2 separate regions of the Homo sapiens genome follow, and region 1 is linked to region 2. Evidence: promoter capture Hi-C in 16 types of primary human blood cells and fetal thymus (Javierre and others, 2016). All regions are on one chromosome and are shown on one strand. The core of a region is centred on a gene start or on the middle of the fragment in contact, and the rest is flanking DNA. Distances in the headings are between cores, read along the strand shown.

What was found. Contacts are between HindIII fragments. The CHiCAGO score rates a contact against its expected background, and 5 or more counts as called.
Region 1: a contact is called between a fragment that was not itself captured here and the fragment with the promoter of MCTP2 in region 2, in 1 of 17 cell types (monocytes). The highest score is 5.8, in monocytes.

The regions. Positions count from the first base shown.
Region 1 is chr15:93,275,632-93,279,680 of GRCh38, forward strand. The region is part of intron 5 of LOC105370982 (a long non-coding RNA gene); the gene reads left to right. Among named protein-coding and RNA genes, the nearest start is that of RGMA, 190 kb to the left of the region's middle. RefSeq lists enhancers at 1-260, 261-761, 2,019-2,901, 2,902-3,783. The HindIII fragment of the contact is 2,053 bases long and covers 741-2,793 here.
Region 2 is chr15:94,229,611-94,233,596 of GRCh38, forward strand. It overlaps MCTP2 (multiple C2 and transmembrane domain containing 2), which reads left to right and starts at 1,951. Exons shown (of 23, transcript NM_001385001.1): 1 at 1,951-2,054. RefSeq lists an enhancer at 206-345 and a silencer at 1,881-2,010. The HindIII fragment of the contact is 9,020 bases long and covers 219-3,986 here.

The DNA.
Region 1 (4,049 bases), core at 517-3,016, 950 kb before region 2:
GCCTGGGGACCCAGAGCACCTCACACATAAACTCGGGTTTGCAGGGAGATGGCTGAATAAAGAAGAGAGGCGAGATTTTAACCTTTTGTGCAGCCAGATCTTTTTTTTTTTTTTGAGATGGAGACTTGCCCAGGCTGGAGTGCTGTGGCGGGATCTCGGCTCACTGCAAGCCCTGCCTCCCGGATTCACGCCATTCTCCTGCCTCAACCTGCCGAGTAGCTGGGACTGCAGGTGCCCGCCACCACGACTGGCTAATTTTTTTTTTTTGTATTTTTAGTAGAGACGGGGTTTCACCGTGTTAGCCAGGATGGTCTCGATCTCCTGACCTCGTGATCTGCCCGCCTTAGCCTCCCAAAGTGCTGGGATGACAGGCGTGAGCCACCGCACCTGGCCTTGTGCAGCCAGATCTTTAGGCCATGCATGTGGCCTGATTCAGCGAGAAACGGGATGACATGAACTGAGGATGAGGGCGGCTGAGCGAGCCAGTTCTTCATAGTCACATTCGGTTTAGCAGCTGATCATGACTTGCAGGTTTCATATCTGAAGATGATTTTCACTTTACCCAGTATTTTCCACAGGAAAAATTAGGGGAACAAAACCCAAAAGCTTTTACTACAGAATATTTTTGTTTCTTTTTAAAAATGGGATCTAATGAGTAATACGTGATCTCGTGATGTTATTAGAAGGTAGGTAACTGGAAGTAGTAGAGGCATTCACAGTCAACCTTTCGGAGTATTGCAAGCTTATTTTTTACAAGCAAAATTATTTTCTGCAAAATCCATTTCATGTGAATACTTAAAATAGAAGCCAATAATAGTTGGGATCCCCTGGATCCCCACCCTGGATCTCACATCGCATTTAGATGTCACGTCTCCTCAGCCTCCTCTTGGCTCTGGGTAATCTGAGCACCGAGGCTGGAGCCCTGCTCACTGCCTGCTTCCTCCCGAAGCCTCTAACTTTCTTCTTGGAACCTCACAGCTTTGTGGAACACTGTTCGAGAGCCCCTGATATACTCCAACACCTATTTACTAAAAATGCAGATGTGAAACGAGTCATTTCAGCTTACATTTAGAAAACAGTCTCTTTCAGGTTGGCGCAGTGGCTCACACCTGTAATCCCAGCACTTTGGGAGGCCGAGGCAGGCGGATCACCTGAGGTCCGGAGTTAGAAACCAGCCTGACCAACGTGGAGAAACCCCGTCTCTAATAAAAATACAAAATGAGCTGGGCGTGGAGGTGCATGCCTGTAATCCCAGCTACTCAGGAGGCTGAGGCAGGAGAATCGCTTGAACCCAGAAGGTGGAGGTTGCAGTGAGCGGAGATCACGCCATTGCAATCTGGGCAACAAGAGCGAAGCTCTGTCTCAAAAAAAAAAAAAAAAAAAAAAAGAAAGAAAAAAGAAAAAAAAGAAAACAGTCTCTTTCAAACCTCCCGGTGAGAAGAAATCCAAATAATTCATGTCAATATTCCGCCCTCGAGGAGGTGGAGCGTAACTCCTCTCTCCTTTCATGTGGGCTGTGCATCGGGACTTCCATCCAGAGAGTACAGTGTGGAAGGAGGAACTCCAAAGGAGTACGGTGGAGACACCTGACAAACACCACCTCAATCAGGTGGTCAAGGTTAAGAGCAACGAACCATGCTAACTGTACATGCCCTGATACGATGGGATGGGAATGGCTCTTCATCTCTGAGGTCTTCCTCCCTAAATCCCTCGCCCAAGTCTAATCACCAGGAAAACATCAGAGCAATCCCGATGAAGGGAGAGTCTGCAGAATGCCTGATCAATACCTCTCACATTTGAAAAGCCATCAAAACCAAAGACACTCTGGGAAGCCGTCAGGGCCAAGAGGAGCTGAAGGAGGCAATGCCTAAATGTGATGTGGTGTCCAGGGTGGTATCCTGCAAGAGTGGAGGGACATTGGTAGAAACTAAGGCTATCTGAATAAAGTATGGATGTTAGTTAATAATAACAATAATACATTGCTATTGGTTCATTAATTGTAATGAATGTACCATACTAACAGAAGATATTATTAGCAGGGGAAAATTGCTTGAGGTTTATGGGTATATGGGAACTCTCTGTACTATTGTGGCAGTTTTTCTGTAAATCCAAACCATTCTAAAATTAAAAGTTACTTTTGAAAAAAAAAAGGTTTATTCCATTACCTAATAATTTGTGGTGTAGGAAAAGTGTTTTTTTTTTTTTTTTTTTTTTAAATTCAGACTAGTCCTTTCTGGTCATACATGGAGGCTAAAGGGGTTTAAAATACTCTGATGGGAGTCTAGACATTAACTTATACAATCCATATTTCTCACTTCACCAGCTTGGGGTACAGAATAAGGTCATATCTTTTAAAATACGCATAATGCTAGACTCCCATTTGCCTTAGGCTAACTGGAGAACGTTATTTTTCCATGCCCTTGGCTCCTGGTGGCATGGTGCTGTCCTCCCGAGACAAGTGCAGTGTGGCCCAGTGAGTCCTGTCACCATCGCCGTCATCGTGGGCCTGCAAGAGCGGAGAAGCCAGCCAGCCCTCCCCATGGCAGCTGTGCAGCTTGGCTTCAGGCCTGGTGCTTGATGGCCTGCGATCCTTCAGTTACTCACCTCTCCAGGCCATGAACACAGCCATTTCTCAGGGGTCAGGGTGGCTAGGTCAGGAAATCTCCCCAGCCATAGCCATTTGAAGTCCTTGGGGAATTCAGAGTGAAAACATTGTTGTCCTTTCCCTCACTTTGAAACTTTCATGCGCGTCGGAGTGAAGAGACCACCAAACAGGCTTTGTGTGAGCAATAAAGCTTTTAATCACCTGGCTGCAGGCGGGCTGAGTCCAAAAACAGAGTCAGCGAAGGGAGATAAGGGTGGGGCGGTTTTATAGGATTTGGGGAGATAAAGGAAAATTACAGTCAAAGGGGATTTGTTCTCAGGTGGGCAGGAGTGGGGGTCTCAAGGTGCTCAGTGGGGGAGCTTTTTGAGCCCGGATGAGCCAGGAAAAGGACTTTCACAAGGTAATGTCATCAGTTAAGGCAAGGACCGGCCATTTTCACGTCTTTTGTGGTGGAATGTCATCAGTTAAGGTGGGGCAGGGCATTTTCACTTCTTCTGTGATTCTTCAGTTACTTCAGGCCATCTGGGCATATACGTGCAAGTCACAGGGGATGCGATGGCTTGACTTGGGCTCAGAGGCCTGACACAAACCTGTTGATTTCCTGGCCCAGCTTGAGTGATATTTCTCCTCTCTCCATCCCCAAGGGGACACATCACTTGATTTCCTGGCTACTTTTGCTCTGTTGTGGGTGAAGAAAGCCACTGCGACTGCATGACTGTGACTTAGATGGAGAGGGGAGGATCAATCTCTTTTTAATAGACAGAAGAGGGAGTGAGCTGGAGAGGCAGGCAGCGAGAGGGAGGCAGTTCTTTCACTGGTAGGGAAAGGACTTGTGTCCTGGGCCTGGATCACCCAGCTCTGTGACTCTCAGTATTCTATCTAATCTTCCTGGGCCTTAGTTTTCTCATCTGCAAATTGGGGAGAGGGATAGAAAAATTGGAAGAGACAAGCCTGACTGTGCAGTGGGTTTTCTTTCCTTTTTTTTTGAGACGGAGTCTCGCTCTATCTCCCAGGCTGGAGTGCAGTGGCGCAATCTCAGCTCACTGCAACCTCCATCTCCCAGGTTGAAGCGATTCTCCTGCCTCAGCCTCCCGAGTAGCTGGGATTACAGGCACCTGCCACCACACCCGGCTAATTTTTGTATTTTTTGTAGGGACGGGATTTCACCATGTTGGCCCGGCTGGTCTGGAACTCCTGACCTCAGATGATCTGCCTGCCTCAGCCTCCCAAAGTGCTGGGATTACAGGTGTGAGCCACTGCGCCTGGCCGTGAAGTGTGTTTTCTGTTCCATCTAGCAGTGTATCCAGGAGCCAAAGCTGGAGCCTGGGCTCTGGCACCCCCTCACCCCCACCCCTCACCCCTACTCCCACCCGAAGCAGTGGTGCTCATCCCCGTGCCACAAGCTCAGCCTCAGTCATGGGTGGGGAGAGAAAAGCCTTGCTCT
Region 2 (3,986 bases), core at 701-3,200:
TAGAAAAGGAGACAGGTAATATGTTTGAACAATTAAAAACAAAAAACCCAGGAAGCTGGGCAGATGAGTGTATTGTGGTGGGAAGGGCAAGTTGTGACCTTAGATTTCTGTATCTTTAGTTGTTTCACTTTCTATACCATTTAATGATTGAAAAATGCGGTTGGACTGCCGGAACCACAGAACAGGAACTCCACTGGGGCAGGAGTTAAAGGCAAAAAAGCTTTTGTGTGGGTTCACTTACTATTTTAATTCATTTGTATTCTTAGTCAGCTTTAAAGGTATGATTGCTTCGTCTGCCTACTGCTCTTTCTCTTCTTCCTTTCATGCTGTTTTACCCTTACCTCTCTCTGTTCTCTGCTAGGGGATGTAACCTTCGGCACGGTGGGAAAAGCCAATTTTGCCATAGGCCTCAGCTTGCTCTGACTCGGCTACTAACTTGACTCATAGCTTCAGGCAGGTTATTTCATGGTTCTGATGCTCATTTTCCTCATCTTGAATCAGAGATTTTATTAACTGTCTCCTGGTTTGTGAAAATTCAATATGATCACGTGTTACATGCCAATCACAGAAACTGGTGCGAAGTTGTGTTCCTCAGTGGTAGCTATTGTTGTAAGTCGGAATTGCATGACAGTGGCAGCTGTTTTCTATCACGTCCTCATGTTTTCTAAATTTTTATGCCCCTTCCTCCCATTTCCTACCTTAGTATTGTTAATAGCTAACTTTTATTAAGTGGTTACCATGGCCCAGGACACTGTAATGAGGATTTTATGTGAATTACCTAATTAATTTCTCAGAAAGTATGAGATAGCTATTATTTTAAGCTATTTAAGCTATTTTAAGCTATTTAAACAACCAGTTTGTTGAAGTTAAAATTTAGAGAGGTTAAGTGAACTCGTCCATTTACACAATTAGTTGCCCAGGCAGAATTTGATTTGAGGTCTGACTCCAAAGCCGGAGCTCTTAATCACCAGTGACACCAACTAAACGCTTCATTTCAGAGCTCGCCTATTCCCAGAGGTCCCATTCCCGTTTTAAGGTTATTTTCTGTAACTCTCTTGTATCTAATTTAAAAATGCTATTTCCCAGAGATGAGTCCCTGATCTCCCAGAAGGCATGGATCATACATTTCTTTTCCTAATCCACCCAAATTCCTAGAGCGCACAGACTTAGGCTCGTTCATAGACGGGAAAAGAAACTGACCAGGCAGTGAAACCGAGCAAACAAAGTGCAATAAGACAATTACAGCAGGAAAGCGGCGTAAAAAAAAGTAGAAAAAGAAAGTAAGGGAAAGGGGAAATAAATAGCAAATATTCGCTGAGTGCCAACAATCGCACGGGAGGGTCTTTAGGGTTCTCTGCCGAGTACTCGGGACGGCTTGCTGAGCAGTACGCCGGCCTTATCTCATAGATGAGGCACCAAGGCTCAGGAAACAGTTCTGTGGATCTGGGCGGGCATCTTCCACCCACAGTCGCGCACACGTGGCATAGGTTAATAGGCTGTCTGGCTCGGGTACCTCTTCCCAGGGTCAGGGCGTTACAAAGGGAGGCTGCTGTCTTCCCATGAATCTATTAGGGACCTACAGGAGCGAAGAGAACCCTTCTGAGTATCAGCGAAGACAGCTTATTAAGACTTTACGAGTTTGCAAGCCATCCTCGTCCTATTTCCTCACTTCGGACTTTTTGGACACACCTTCCTTTTCCTGTGAGCCAACCCAAACGAATGAGTTACAAGTAATCGCCTTCTCTACGCCCAGCCAGTGCCCAGCACCAAGCATAGCGCCTCCTTGCAACACCCGGCCGAGCTCCCGGCGGCAGCGCGGGCGCTTGGGTCGGAGGCTGCTCAAAGGTGACGCGCGGCCGCCTCCTCCCCTTTAGGCGGGGCTCGCAAGGGCGGTGGGGGGGCCCGAGGAAGTCCGGGGGCCCTCGGTGATGCCCCCGCCCCCGCCGCGTCAGGGTTGCTCCCTGCGCTTCCGAGTGGCGACTGCAGCGGGTCCGGTGCAGGTGAGGGGCGCGCGCCTGCCCAGCTTTGCAGCCCCCGAACGCGGCCTCGCACAGGTGAGGGCGGTGCCGGGTTCACCTGGCAGCGCGCGTGGGCCGGGCAGCACGGTCGCCGCCTGGGGGTGGGCGTCTTCTCTCAACCGAAGCTGGGAGTTGGGGAGCTGGAGGGTCCAGGATGAGAATTCAGTGGCGCTACTACCCCGGAGCTGCTTGTGGTTCAGAGATCAGAAAGGTGTCCTGAGGACTGGAGGCAGAAATCCAGGCGTGGCGTACTGGAAGGCGCACTAGGGGAGGGCAGCCTGGCCCAGAATTTCTTTGCATTTTAAAGGCCACACATTCAGTCTCCCCGGGGCGCTACGGAGGTAGTCACCGCCACATCCAGGACTCCTTCCACAGAGGTCAGTTCCTCAGCTGGGTGGGCTTTAATACGCTCTCTTCGTAGAGACCCGGAGGTTCAACTTTAATTCTTTGCGCTGACATTTGCTCAACGACACCGGAGCAGAAATCCTTGGGATAATTGCGTAGGTAACAAACAGTGTCTCAATCCCACTGAAGATAAGTAAGTTAAAAATAAAGACAGTGATGTTGGTGGTGAACTTGAGTGGCGATTAGTTTCCGCAATTAGTTCCCTCCTGCACTGTCCATTTGTTAAGCAAATGTGCTGACGGCTTTTTTTAAATGATTGGGTTGCCATAAAAGAGGTTTTCTCTAGTCTGAATGAACTTCTGTGCGATGCTGACTGAGGGTTTCAGCCTCCTCTAGATGCTTACAAGAGCTTGGTCTGGAAGGTACAAGGGTGCGAACCCTTAAGGTACCAAGCAGCTTCTCAGTGAACCGTGAGACGTTAGAACACTTGCTTCAGGACGCACAGAATTCAGACACCACTTATTGAAGGATTTGTATGGATTATAATTTACATTAGCATTCATTTTTTGCTTGAGTCAGTAGCATTTCAATTCAACAAATATTTATTGTACACCTGTTAACGGGCAGACCTCTGAGAGCCGGGCTGGTGTGCTGTTGGGTAGCACAGGTGTTGATATTAATACAAAGGGGAATCTTAAGGCACTTATTCCTCACAGGTGGGTGTTTAGAACGAGACCAATGGTGCTGCGCTTTGCCTCAGCAGCACCTGTGTAATCGCTGGTTATAAGTATTTAAATGCAGGGAGAATGTAAATCTTTGAAGAGTCTCTGTCATTAGCCTGATCAGTCATTCCAAAGCAATAAAAATTGTCAAAACCATGCTTAAAATAAGATTATTAAGAATTAGCTCTGTGCCAAGCACCATGCTAGGCACTTTGTCTTGTCTATGAAATCTACAAAGTAGATACTATTCCCCTGTGCAGATAAGGAACTGAGGCAGAGAGGAGTCCAGTAATTTGTACAAGGTCAGTGGTGAATTTAGAAATTGCATGTGGCTATTTCTGAGTGCAGAACTCGTACTTTTTCACTATTCCATGCTGTCTCTAAGATGGAGAGTGTAAATCCGGCAGATTTAATATAAGAATTCAAATTTATATTCATAGATCCTATCTCCTGGGGATTAATGGAGTTAAAGTAGTCCTCAGGAATGAAGTGAGCACTGTTTTCATTGCACTTGTGTGGTCAAGCTGTGACCTATCTGTGACTAGTAGATGTAGCTTTAAAAGATAAAATTTATTATGTGTCTTAACATATTTTGAAAGGCCTTTCAAAATATGTTAAAAGATAAAATTTATTATGTCTCTTAACATATTTTGAAAGGCCTGATATATCCAAACAGGGCCAATTAATAAAATTGCATATATATTCTCTCTGTGTTATACATGGAAGGAACAGCTAATTTCCTATTATTGGTGTGCTTTACTATGGTCTCCTCCTGCAGAGGTGAGTTTCTCAGCTGAGTGGGCTTTGAAATCAATTTCAGCTTGATTTCTTACAGCTGCAAGATGATTAGCGGTCTCTTGTCACCTGGAAAGGACTTTGTGTTTGTGTAAACCTGTGCTCA